2 separate regions of the Homo sapiens genome follow, and region 2 is linked to region 1. Evidence: promoter capture Hi-C in 16 types of primary human blood cells and fetal thymus (Javierre and others, 2016). All regions are on one chromosome and are shown on one strand. Each heading gives the region's core, a stretch centred on a gene start or on the middle of the fragment in contact. The rest is flanking DNA. Distances are from core to core; before and after follow the strand shown. Region 1 holds the start of NIT2 (nitrilase family member 2). Region 2 overlaps TMEM45A (transmembrane protein 45A).

Evidence for each region. Contacts are between HindIII fragments. The CHiCAGO score rates a contact against its expected background, and 5 or more counts as called.
Region 2: a fragment that was not itself captured here is called in contact with the fragment with the promoter of NIT2 in region 1 in 1 of 17 cell types (naive CD4 T cells); the score reaches 5.1 in naive CD4 T cells.

What each region holds. Positions count from the first base shown.
Region 1 is chr3:100,328,670-100,336,006 of GRCh38, forward strand. It overlaps NIT2 (nitrilase family member 2), which reads left to right and starts at 6,088. Exons shown (of 10, transcript NM_020202.5): 1 at 6,088-6,129. The coding sequence starts at 6,123. RefSeq lists enhancers at 5,856-6,424, 6,518-6,567, 6,588-6,647, 6,768-6,847 and silencers at 6,088-6,417, 6,816-7,110. The HindIII fragment of the contact is 2,232 bases long and covers 4,717-6,948 here.
Region 2 is chr3:100,576,000-100,582,366 of GRCh38, forward strand. It overlaps TMEM45A (transmembrane protein 45A), which reads left to right. Exons shown (of 6, transcript NM_018004.3): 6 at 926-1,445. The coding sequence ends at 1,019. Among named protein-coding and RNA genes, the nearest start is that of ADGRG7, 30 kb to the right of the region's middle. The HindIII fragment of the contact is 4,084 bases long and covers 1-3,311 here.

The DNA.
Region 1 (7,337 bases), core at 4,838-7,337:
TGGAACCAACCCAAATGCCCATCAATCAATGAGTGGATAAAGAAACTGTGAGATATATATATATATATGATATTCAGCCATAAAAAGGAATGAATGAATGGCATTCGCAGCGACCTGGATAATATTGGAGACTATTTTTCTAAGTAAAGTAACTCAGGAATGGAAAACCAAACATCGTATGTTCTCACTCATAAGTAGGAGCTAAGCTATGAGGATGCAAAGGCATAAGAATGAGACAATGGACTGTGGGGACTCGGGGAAAGAGTGGGAAGGGGGTGAAGGATAAAATACTACAAATTGGGTGCAGTATATACTGCTCGGGTGATGGGTGTACCCAAATTTCACAAATCACCACTAAAGAACTTACTCAGGTTACCAAACACTACCTGTTCCCCAATAACCTATGGAAATAAAACAACTAAAATAAATAAATAAAATGAAAAAAATAGACCCCCACAAATAATGGGCAGTTGTTTTGAGCAAAGTTTCAAAGGCAATTCAATAGAGAAAGGATAGTCTTTTCAACATACACTGTTGGAACAACTAGATACCCATATACAAAGAAATTAATCTCAACCTATATACCTCAAACCTTATACAAAAATTAACTCAATGCATCATACAGCTAAATGTGCAATGTAAACCTATAAAACTAATAGAAAACAGGAGAAAATTTTCATGATCTTGGGTTAGGCCATAGTTCTTAGACATATGAAAAGCACAATCCATAAGAATGAATCATGTCTATTATCCCAGCACTTTGGGAGGCCGAGACGGGCAGATCACGAGGTCAGGAGTTTGAGACCAGCCTGGCCTGCAAGGTGAAACCCCCTCTCTACTAAAAATACAAAAATTAGTCGGGCTTGGTGGCGTGCGCCTGTAATCCCAGCTACTTGGGAGGCTGAGATAAGAGAATCACTTGACTCTGGGAGGCAGAGGTTGCAGTGAGCCGAGATCACCACTGCACTCCGGCCTGGGTGACAGAGAGAGACTCCATCTCAAAAAAAAAAAAAAAAAAATCTTAAATTTAAAAATTTTGCTCTGCAAAAGACACTTAATAGAAGGGAAAGACAAGCTACATACTGGGGAAAAATACTGTACTTGCAAAACATACCAACAAAGGATTTGTGTTCAGAATATATAAAGATTTTCACTACAACAATAAGAAAACAAAACAATGGGGAAAAGAAGCAATTCTTCAGAGAAAGATGGGTGGCAAATAGGCATGTGAAAAGATCATCATTAGCTGTTGGGGAAATGTAAATCAAAACCACACCAGTTAGAATGGCTAAAATTAAAAACAAAAAATGACAATACCAAGTGCTGGTGAGGATATGGAATAACTAGAACATTCATACATTGCTGGTGGGTGTACAAAATGGTACAGACACTCTAGACAACAGTTTGGCCATTTCTTGTAAATAAACATATGTTTACTATACAACCCGGCAATCCCTCTCCTAGGTATTTACCCTAGGGAAATGAAAACTTAACATCCACACAAAAGAGTTCATGGTTATAACTGCTATACTGTGCCACCTCTTTGCTGTTTGCTGTCCTGGAAACAGCAGGCGAGAGCTAGTGGCCTTCTCAGTGTTTGCTTTTCTCTTCAGGTTGCCAGCTTTACTCAGTTACCTGTCTAACCCACGTGGGTATATTAAATTGGTCTCCCAACGTTAAGTAACTTGTCCAAAGTTACATGGTGTGTCAGCAAAGTTTTGAACTCAGGTCTCCTGATTTGCAGAGAACTGCATCAGAAATTTAAAAATTCTGTGTATCTATGCATTTATGTGTATATTTAGATGCATACACACTCTTTGACTCCTCCCTGTACACAGTTCTAACCCAATATGATAATTCCCAAGTTTGATCCTTTGCTTTCTGTAGTATACTCTTTCCTTCTCCGATTGCATCTACTCATAGATTTCTTCTCTTATTCTTTGCAAATGACTGCAATTCTGATTTTCAGCCCCTAATTTCTGACTGCTGTAAGTCACTTGCGTATTGTGGTGTTACGAGGTATACACACACATACATACACACATTTTCAAGCACGGTCCCTGACTCCCATAGCCTTGTTAAGTCTTTTGTTATAATGCCAGTTGTGTTAGGCCTCAGGGGCAGGCCTCAGGAAACAGAATCTCTCTGGCCTCTCCTGCTCTCCTTTCACCTGCCCCAAGGCAGAACTCTAATCTTGCTGATTGTGGGTCTTAAATACCTCCTGAGAGCTCCTGCCCCATCCCTTGGAGGAAGGAATGCTGATAACATAAAGTTCCCATAAAGGCCAATAGAACTGGGTTTGGAGAGCTTCTAGATAGCTGACCACGTTCGTGGAGGTTCTGGAGGGCATGGAAGCTTTGTGCCCCTCCTCCCATACTTTGCCCTACACATCTCTTCCTTGTAGCCTTTGCAACATCCTTTATAATAAACCAGGAAACATGTTTCCATGAGTTCTGTGAGCTGCTCCAGCAAGTTATTCAAACCCAAAGATGGGATCATGGCAACCCCAACTTGAAAGTGGTTGGTCAGAAGTTCTGGAGTCCAAGACATATGACTGGTGCCGGTGTGTCTTCCTCAGGTAGACAGTGTTGGAATTGAATAGGAGGATACCCAGCTGGTGTCCGCTGCTTGGTGGTAGGGAGGAACCCCCTCACATTTGGTCCCAGAATTCTTCTGTGATGATGATTGTTGTGGTGGTGATGTAAGAGCAGAGGAAAAACACGGAGAGTTTTCCTGGAACACATATCCACCTCTCCCCCAAAAACTGAGCTCACGTTCCCCTAGACTCACCTCATACTATGAAGCGGCAGCTGGAGGAATGCTGATGGAAAGGAGAGACCAGTTAGGAAGTGCCTGTAGCAGTCTCCCCAAGGTGAGGAAGGCCTACCTGTGGACGGTGGTGGTGGGAACTGAAAGGAGGAATCAGGGACATTTCCTGAGAGTAAGAAGAGCCCTGTCCCTTACCAGAGGTGGGGAATGAAAGACTCGAAAGTCACTGAAGTGACTTAGGTTTTCTTGGAGGGCTGGAAAGCAGGGAGAATTAGAAAACTGGGCATAAATTGTGGTGCCTGTAAGTGCTGGGTGGAGAAGCTCTTTTGGAGGTGATACATTTAGTTTCACATAGTTGAGTTGGAACTGATGTTGAGACATGTAAATAGAGATGGCGGCAGCCGGAGATGTTGAAATAGGTCCTCTGGAGTAAAAATAAAAATCTGACTAGTAACAGCCTGGAAATGGTCATTAAGCCTGTGAGACATGGGTAGAAATGAGAATAGAGACTGAAAAGGCACACCAGATTTTTAGCTGGGCTTTCAAGATCCATTTGGCCTGGTAGTTTTGTTTTTTGGCCTATTTTCATACGTCAGATGAACAGGAACATGGAAACGAAGGCAGAGCTGCTGCAGAGAAGGGACAGTGAGGGGAGTGGTGGTGGGGAGGGCTGCACAAACTTCACCCTTCAGCCAGATTCTTCTTCCTTTGCCTCTAAATCCTTTCACATACAGGTGAGGAAAAGGTCCTGAGGGTGAGGTGATTTGCCCTAGGTATTAACATCTAATCAGTGTCAGAGCCAGAACCAGAACCCAGTGACTAGCTTTTCCATTGTGCCCAGAAAGTTCTAAAGAAAGGTTTAAAAAGCGCACTTTCATTTAGCTTTTCCTTTTCTAGGAACACCCCTAGTGCCCAAGTCAGCAGTTTCCCTGCATGTGACAGAGGGACACAGTACCCATAGGCTTTTGGTCTTGATGGCCTTCTCCTGGTCCTGCTTCTCTCTCTCTCTTTTTTTTTTTAATGGAGTCTGGCTCTGTCACCCAGGCTGGTGTGCAGTGGCACAATCTCGGCTCACCGCAACATTCGCCTCCCAGGTTCAAGTGATTCTGCTGTCTCAGCCTCCTGAGTAGCTGGGATTACAGGTGTGTGCCACCACGCCCAGCTAATTTTTGCATTTTTAGTAGAGACGGGGTTTCACCATGCTGGTCAGGCTGGTCTCGAGCTCCTGACCTCTTGATCCACCTGCCTCCACCTCCTGAAGTGCTGGGATTATGTTAATTATTAAATCTAGGAGGAGGACACAGCTGTTCCTCCACCAGGCAGTGGCGCCCGGCCTGGTCCTTCTCCTCTAATGGCTCCTTCCCAGGCTCCACAGGCCCTTCTTCTTTTGCGTGTGCCTTTCATACTCCGCTTGTGTGTTCTCATCCAAATTCAGAGCTTCCTCTTAGTTAAAACTGCTGGTGACTCCCAAGTCAATTTCCAGCCCAGACATCTTCTGAGCTTGAGGCTTTGGTCCGGTTGCCTACTGGGCATCTCCACCTGGATGCCATGGCTCATGCCTATAAGGCCAGCACTTTTTGAAGCCAAAGTGGGAGGATCACTTGAGCCTAGGAGTTTGAGACCAGCCTGGGCAACACTGTAAGAATCCACTTCTAAAAAAATGAAATAATTTGCATTTTGAACAAGCACTTCAAATAACATTTCCAGCCAGGTTTAGGACCACTATTAGTTACAATGTTAGTCCAATAAATTTGGAAATCTAGATGAATTTTTTTAACAGGTTGTAAGTGACCACAGGTTGACCCTGAAACCTCATAGGTTAATAAGCATAGCAGAAATGAAAAGGTTTTTAAAGATCTTCCTGCTACAAAGCCAAGTCCAGATAGTCTCTTAAGCTGCAGAAAGACCATAACTGCTATGTATTTCCCCCCAATTTTTTTTTATGAAAGCTTAAAATTTTAAACTTCTACAAAGTTTTAATCTAGTACCATGAACAGCTGTGTCCTCCTCCTAGATTTAATAATTAACATTTTGCCATATTTGCTTTATCTTATGTGTTTTCTTTTTGCTGACGATTTTCAAGTCAAACATTCTGATGGTTCATCCCTAATACTTCCTCATTTTCTAAGAGTAAAGAATTGTCACAAGCACAACACTATAGCACACAAAATAATTCAGAAAAGCATCAAATATCTCGTTCATATTTAAATCTCCCTAGTTGCCCCCAAAATGTTTTTATAGTGTTCTTTTACAAACCAAGATCTGTTTCAGTATAAACTATTCTGGGGCATTCCAAAAGGTGGTTAAGTTTTGGATTTTTGTTCCACAAGTCTGACAAGGCACAAAAACACAAAACACGAAAATTAAAAAGCAATCTAATAAATAAAAATGCAAAAATCATAGTCTATAGGCTGGGCGCAGCAGCTCACGCCTATAATTCCAGCACTTTGGGAGGCTAAGGCAGTAGGGTCTTGAGCTCAGGAGTTTGAGACCAGCCTGGGCAAAATAGCAAGGCCCCACCTCTATTAAAAGTAAAAAACTTAAAAAAAAAAAAAAAAGAAAGAAAGAAAGAAAAAGAAAAAAGGAAAAGAAATAGCTAGGTGTGGTGGTGTGTGCCTGTAGTCCCAGCTACTTGGGAGGCTGAGGACGGAGGATCGCTTGAGCCGGGAGGTTGAGGCTGCAATGGGCTGAGACTGCTGCACTGCACTCCTGACTGGATGACAGAGTGAGACCCTGTCTAAAACAAACAAACAAAAAAGGATATTAGCAAAGAGATGACAATGTATTCGAGGACTGACTTGTTGAGGGCATGGCGTTGAACCCTCAGCATCTTTCCCGTTGGCCTAGCAGCCTTGTAGTCAGATTTTACAGACGTCTCGCGTGCCTAAACCAACCAGGGTCATTCCGTCCCCGTCACAGAGACTTGTTCAAATAGCTCAAGCCCATCAGCATACGGTGTTAACCTGGCCACAGAGGTGATTCAACCAGCTAGAAGTTCAGTCCTTTTGCGGAGAATCAGCAAACGCTACAAATCAGGGCTTTCCTCCCTGAAAAGTCTGGTTGTTAAGACATTCACCAGCACACCACCTCGACTTAGGCCGTTCCCTTTTGCCCTTTGCCTTTCGAGGCATGCTTTTTCCGGACTGTGTTGCAATTAACCATTTCTCGTTGGTCCGTCCTGGTGTTACAGGCGCACTGGAATGAACGCAGACCCTTCTCTCCTCCCGGCCGGGGCCAGGAGGAGGGGTGGGGCGGGGCCTCTGACGCGGTCCCCGCCCCACCGTAGCGACGCCGCGGTCCGCCGGATCTCCAGCGCTCAGTCCGCGCCGCAGGTGGTGCTTGTCTGCAGAGTCATGACCTGTAAGTGGCGCGGCCGCGCGCTGCAGCTCGAGTTCGGGCCGCGGGGGAGGCTTTGGAGCGGCGCCGGCGGTGGCTCGGCCGGCTCAGCCCCTCCGCCCCGCGTCCCCGCCGTGCGCGGCCTTCCCTGAGGCGGGCGTCCGCGTGGGTCCGGGATCGCGTGGCCGGGCGGCCGGGCGCACTCCCGGGATTCCAGGCTTCCGGGGTGGCGGGCGAGGCCCAGAAAGCACCAGGCCACCCGGCCGCGCCGGCACCCGCCGCGTCCTGCTTGACAGAGGCTGATGGACGTGTATTTCTCCACGGTGTGGGCCGCGGTGGTAGGATCCAACTCCCTTGGGTGTTTTCAAGTTGCGTGACCTCCTCCAGCCCCGCCCTGCACAAAGGTGCCCAGGCGGTTCTTCGTCTCCCCACTCACTTTCCAGCTCCAGATTTTGACTTGGATTCTTGCTGTGTCACTTACTTTGTTCAGTGACTTTGTGCAGCTTTCCCCCTGCAAGTCCCCTGTTTCTTTATTTGTAAAATGATGTTAATGATACCTCACACAATGATGTTAATGTGTGAAGGACCTGGCACATTGCTTTAAATGTTATTCCTTTGTTGTTTCCTTCGCTCACAGTATTTTATTCTTTTTTTCCGCCCCTTGGTAAGGTCTTCGTTGTTAGATTATGATGAATATTAGGGCAGCCTTAAAAGTCTTCACTTTACAGATGAGATGGAGTGACGGGCGTCTCCTCCTCAGCATGAGGAACTGCCCAGTGGCGGGGTTTCCCTGCTGCAGCATGTCTGTAGAGTGGGTCATTTGCAGAATGATAGGCAGTCCTAAGCTTAGTTGAGGACCCCGCCCTTGTGGGTGAGATGTGTAGGAGAGGAAGCCATCAGCGTAGCCATGGTGAGCTTTATCTTTCCCACCCTCGGAAGCACAGACATGGCCCGGCACGTGGCTCACGCCTGTAATCCCAACAGTTTGGGAAGCTGAGGCACGAGGATCGCTTGAGTTCACGAGTCAAGAGTTGGAGACCAGCCTGGGCAACATGGCGACACCTTGTCTGTACTAAAAAATACAAAATTAGCCCGGTGTGGTGGCACGCCCCTTTAGTCCCAAACTACTTGGGAAGCTGAGGAGGGAGAATGGCTTAACGCTGGGAAATGGAGGGGAGACGTTTAGTGGATTTATCTGCTGTTCTGATAACAGCTCAAAATATCTGTTTGCC
Region 2 (6,367 bases), core at 20-2,519, 240 kb after region 1:
TCTCTTAATTGTTTTAGAAATGATCAAAGTTGGCTGGGCACGGTGGCTCATGCCTATAATCGGAGCACTTTGGGAGGCTGAGGCGGTCAGATCACTTGAGTTCAGGAGTTCGAGACCATCCTGACCAACATGGAGAAACCCCTTGTCTACTAAAAATATAAAAAAAATTGGCTGGGCACAGTGGCTCACGCCTGTAATCCCAGCACTTTGGGAGGCCGAGGCAGGTGGATCACGAGGTCAGGAGTTCAAGATCAGCCTGGCCAAGATGGTGAAACCCCATCTCTATTAAAAATACAAAAAAATTAGCTGGGCGTGGTGGTGGGCGTCTGTAATTCCAGCTACTCAGGAGGCTGAGGCAGAGAATTGCTTGAACCCGGGAAGCAGAGGTTGCAGTGAGCTGAGATTGTGCCACTGCACTCCAGCCTCCAGCCTGGATGACACAGCAAAACTCCGTTTAAAAAAAAATAATAATTAGCTGGGTGTGATGATACATGCCTCTAATTCCAGCTACTCAGGAGGCTGAGGCAGGAGGATTGCTTGAACCTGGGAGGTGGAGGTTGCAGTGAGCCAAGATTGCGCCACTGCACTCCAGCCTGGGTGACAGAGCAAGACTCTGTCTCATAAAAAAAAATAGAAAAGAAAAGAAAAAGAAAAAGAAAAAGAAATGAGCAAAGTTATCTTCTGAGGCCTAATTAAACAATGATGCAATACATTGGAAAACCACGTTGTATCTGTTTACTTATACCCTGCTTTAATCCACAAAAATTTTCAGGCAGCTCCAAAGCCAAATAAAAGTAATTTTCCTTTTTGGGTTGCCTTCCCCAGTTGCCCAAATAATCTAGACTTTGTGGTATAATGGGTGCATATTGCTCTGGGTTTCTATTTTAAAAACCGTCTAACTTGAGATGCTTTTCTTTCTCCTCAGGTTGGTTAAATCTAGACTTAAGAGGCTCTGCTCCTCAGAAGTTGGACTTCTGAAAAATGCTGAACGAGAACAAGAATCAGAAGAAGAAATGTGACTTTGATGAGCTTCCAGTTTTTCTAGATAAACCTTTTCTTTTTTACATTGTTCTTGGTTTTGTTTCTCGATCTTTTGTTTGGAGAACAGCTGGCTAAGGATGACTCTAAGTGTACTGTTTGCATTTCCAATTTGGTTAAAGTATTTGAATTTAAATATTTTCTTTTTAGCTTTGAAAATATTTTGGGTGATACTTTCATTTTGCACATCATGCACATCATGGTATTCAGGGGCTAGAGTGATTTTTTTCCAGATTATCTAAAGTTGGATGCCCACACTATGAAAGAAATATTTGTTTTATTTGCCTTATAGATATGCTCAAGGTTACTGGGCTTGCTACTATTTGTAACTCCTTGACCATGGAATTATACTTGTTTATCTTGTTGCTGCAATGAGAAATAAATGAATGTATGTATTTTGGTGCAGACACCTGAAATCTTTGTTTTTGTTATTTAGCTACACTCCTCCTTTTTATCATGCAGAAGAAGCTGCAGGACACAGAAATTCTTTTTTGTGAGACATCTCTATAGTACCTGAGTTCTCCACAGGGAATAGTAGGCCAGAAGTCTTCCTAGGGTGTGTGATCTTTCAGAGAAGATAAAAGGGATGATCCTTAGGACACATGGTTGCAAAGCCACGAGAGACTGGGAAAGGAGAACTGGGGTGTTGTCCATAAGAGTAAAAAGTCATCACACACCATAGCATGGCCACCACAGCATCCCCTCTGTTACAGTAAGTGAAAGGTTAAAACCAGGAAAAGCCTTTTATGGAATGCTTGGGTAAAAAGTCAGAACTCTTACCTAGTCTGTGCCCTAAGTAGCCCCCCAGTGGAGAGTCAAGAAATCTTGTTTCTGATTCTGGCTCTACCATTAACCAGCTTTAGGTCTCTGGCAATCACCATGTCCTTCTCTCTAAAGTAAGGAATTGAATTGAATGAACCATGGGGCTCTTCTGGTTGTCACATTTTAAGAATCTAGAAATGGAAGCATATGGAAAGCTATTAGGTTGGTGCAAAAGTAGTTGTGGTTATTGCCATTGCAAAGCAATGTCTTTTCTTCAATGTCAACCTAATAATTTAGTACAATGTTAGTCACAAAGACCAGTATTTTCTATGAGAGAAAAGGAAGGAGGATTGCACGAATCCTTGAGGGATGACCCAAACCTGGAGGAAAGGAGGCAGCCCTGTGCACAGCTAGAGCTGAAATGTGGTCAACTAAGTCCTGAAGGCTCCCTAGCTTTCCAGAAGCACTGGCAAGTCTAGAAGGCTGCCTAGTCTCATATGTGTCACAGTGACATTGAAGAGTCAGGTGAGTAGATTCTTCAGGCCCCAGAACTGGACACATTCATTTTGTCACATAAGTTTGAAAAGAGCAGGTGTGAGTGCCTAAAGGTTTATCTTGAATAATGCCATGAACCTTAGGACGTTTCTGGCATATGAAAATGCCCACATGCCACAGTCCTTGGGGGTCATGGCATTCTGTCCCATATATGTCTTATCTCTCGGGGCTGTTTGCTAGACCCACAAAATTCTATGATTTTGACAAGTTTGGGTTTCAAAGGAGTGAGTGAGTGAGCGATCAGCAGCAGTTACATGAAGCTGGCATCACTGGTATATAGGCCTGAGCAGAAACACTGGGAATAATTAGCATGAACCAGATTAAGCCTGGAATTTTGAAAACTGATAAGTGCAAATAGTCTACAGTCTTTGTGAGAGAGCAGAAATTTCCACTCCTCTAGTCTGCACACAGATTACAAGTAAAATCAACTCAGCAAGTTCTCAAAGGAGGAATATTTGGTTCAGGTCTAAGTCTAAACTCTAGGGCTATCTGCCTCTAGTTCCTGAAATGAGCAATACATTGGAACACTATCATGACAACTTTATGGTTACATTATTGGGTTTGTAATTTGTGACTAACATTTTTATGGAATGATGTGAAAAATTAACAAACTGTGAACTTGAGCCAAAAATGAGACAGTCATATTTTCTTGTGCTAGGAAATCTTAGATCAATAAGTACAATTTTTAAAGGTTTTGATTTATAAAAAAGTATGTTTCAGTAAATGTTCTGAAACCATGAAAAATATTTTATAATAAAAATATAAAAAGTTTTCAACTCTAGATCATGGGATGAGAAAAATTAGTTTCAGGCTATACTTAACCCGTGTGTACCAATGGAATCAATCATCCAATGAATGTTTATTAAGCAGTTACCATGTGCCAAGCAGTGTTCAATAAACTAGGAATACAGTGGTATTCTACAGCAGTACTTAAGCCAAAGTCCCAGTCTTCATCAAGCTTACATTCCCATGGAACATACAGTCAATAACAAAGTCAACAAATAAGTTCTACAGTTTGAGGCAATAATAAGTTATATGAAGAAAAATAAAGCTGGGAAGGAGTATAAAGAATGGTGGGGTGCTGCTATGGTTTACATACGATTTGTTTGTCCCCTTCAAGTCTCATGTTGAAATTTGGTCATCAATGTTTGAGGTGGGGCCTAGTGGGAGGGGTTTAGGTCATAAGGGTGGATCCCTCATGAACGGCATGGTGCCATCCTCATTAGTTTGCACTCTATCAGTTCCCCAGAGAGTTTTCCTGAAAGCTGGTGTTGAAAAGGGCCAGGCACCTCCCTTCCCTCTCTTGCTTCCTTTCTCACCATGTGATCTCTGCACACGCCAGCCCCCCTTCCCCTTCCGCTGTGAGTGGAAGCAGCTTGAGCCCCTCACCAGAAGCTGATGCTGGTGCCATGCTTCTTATACAGCCTGCTGAACAGTGAGCCAAATAAACCTCTTTTATTATAAATTACCCAGCCGCATGTATTCCTTTATTGCAACGCAACAGGCTAAGACAGGTGGGGGAAAGCACCACCTTCCTGAGAGTGGTCCTTTCCTAGAGGTGCTCCACTAACCACCCGAGGGAAAATAGCCCCTGAACTTCTGCCCATCCCTCTCTATCATTATCAGGCATTATAGTGTTTATATATTTCCAGAGCCTTTAGCTCTGAAAGGAAAACCTTATCAAAGAAGGGATGGGGATGGAGGTTTACTCCCTTACTTTATATTTGTATTTTGTCTCCATTCTTCCAAAAACCTAGGATCTCAATTCCTGAGCTTTTGCCAAACTTTGAGTATCCTATGCTTCATTTGTCATAACCAAAGTGGAGAAAACCTTTACATAAATCAATGTTTGATTTCTAGTGCAGGTGTTAATGTAGGAAAGACTCAAGGACATTTTATAAAGCAGACAGAACCCTGTGGATGGAAAGCCTCTGTGGCTGTATAATAGGAAAGTGAAGGGTGGGGACAGATTATTAAGCAATATCAACTTTGGCTGTTGATGTGATACCAACTCCTTAGTGATTTCTGTAATTCTCCAATCTCCTTTGCTTGGGAATCTGCAACCTCTGATTGCACTAACTTCCAGCTCATTGTTGAAATGGGAGGCTTGGTTATGGTACACTCCTCATCGTTTCGTTTCTAGAGAATCTCATTAATCAAGGTTGATTAATTGTATCTTGGTTGTGGATTGATAAGGTGCAGCAAGAGTCAATGGATGCTATGGGAACAATAAAAATAAAAGCTGAGAACTGGGAAATTCTCCCAAAATACAAGCAAATGATAGATTAAAAGTATGAAAGAAAAGTTAATACACCTGAAGAATATATCCAGAAATTCTATATTCTGTTTCATATGCATTCCAGGTAGAGAAAATTGAGAGAATAGAGGATAGGCATGAAATAATATAAGAGAATATCCCTTAATGGCAAGGAAGAGAGATTTTTGCTTTAAGCTTGGAAGGGTGTTTCGAGAGATTTGCAGTGGATAGTGTGGATTTCTGGTAATAAAAATTTAAAAGCTTAATTATGTCTTATACTTTTAAATTCAATTTGTGAATATTGTTATTCTAAGTCTAGCAAATTTTAACACTCATTTTTAAGGAGTCTTTAATGTTTGAATATAATCTTAAATAATTAGATTTCCCTTTAAGCATTTCATATTATTTTTTTTGTGGGAGACTGGAGTTTTATTATTACTCGTATCAGTCTCCCCGAGTATTCAGGGATCAGAGTTTTTAAGGACAACTTGGTGGGCGAGGAGAAGCCACCAAGGAGTGCTGATTGGTCAGGTCAGAGGTGAAATCATAGGGAGTTGAAGCTGTCTTCTTGCACTGAGTCAGTTCCCAGATTGGGATCAGATGAGCCAGTATATCAATGTGGGTGGTGCCAGCTGATCCATCAACTGCAGGGTCTGCAAAATATCTCAAGCACTGGTCTTAGGCTTTACAATAGTGATTTTTACCCCCAGGAGCAATTTGGGGAGGGTCAGAATTTTGTAGCCTCTAGCTACATGACTCCTAAAACATAATTTCTAATTTTGTGGCTAATTTCTTAGTCCTATAAAAGCAGTCTAGTCCCCAGGCAAGAAGGGGGTTTGTTTTGGGAAAGGGCTGTTATCATCTTTGTTTCAACCTATAAACTACAAGTTCCTCCCAAAGTTAGTCGGGCCTGCAGCCAGGAATGAACAGCTTGCAGGTTAGAAGCAACTTGGAGTTGGTTATGTCAGATCTCTTTCACTGTCTCAGTTATAATTTTGCAATGGCAATTTCAATCCCAAAAAACCCTTTGGGTTTTATAACACCTCATCTTAAGGTGTTGGCTAATGAAGATAGAAAAAGGGCAAAGACCATTGTAACTTCTTCCTGTTGACCAGGGGCGTGTGGGGGTAGGTGTTGACCCCAAGGTGAAAGGAGTGGAACCACTTTGCAACTGTCAAAGCATACTCATGCAGTCCTGGCTGAGATTCCAAGGCTTGCATGATAGAGGCATTAGTATTGTCAACTATAGTTTTAGTACCACATTTAAGGAAACAGCATACTATAAGGTAAATAATGAGTACCAGAACAAGGAATGCAATTCCCAGTTTTAAAAGTAAAGATTTGAAAGCATTAGTTTGGGAACTTGTAGCCTGCCAAGAATTTAGAATTTAGGCCAAACTGCTGGAAAAACTCAAGTACAGCTAACAACAGGTATACTATAATTTTTTGAAACATACTTTTTCTCTCTCCAGTCCCTGTTTTTATTAAAAACAAATCATGGGCAAGGCGGGGTGACTCATGCCTGTAATCCTAGCACTTTGGGAGGCCGAGGTGGGCAGATCACCTTAGGTCAGGAATTCGAGACCACCCTGGCCAACATGGCGAAACCTCATCTCTACTGAAAATACAAAAATTAGCCGGGCATGGCGGCACGCACCTGTAATCCCAGCTACTTGGCAGGCTGAGGCAGGAGAATCGCTTGAACCCGGGAGGTGGAGGTTGCAGTGAGCCGAGATCACGTGACTGCACTCTAGC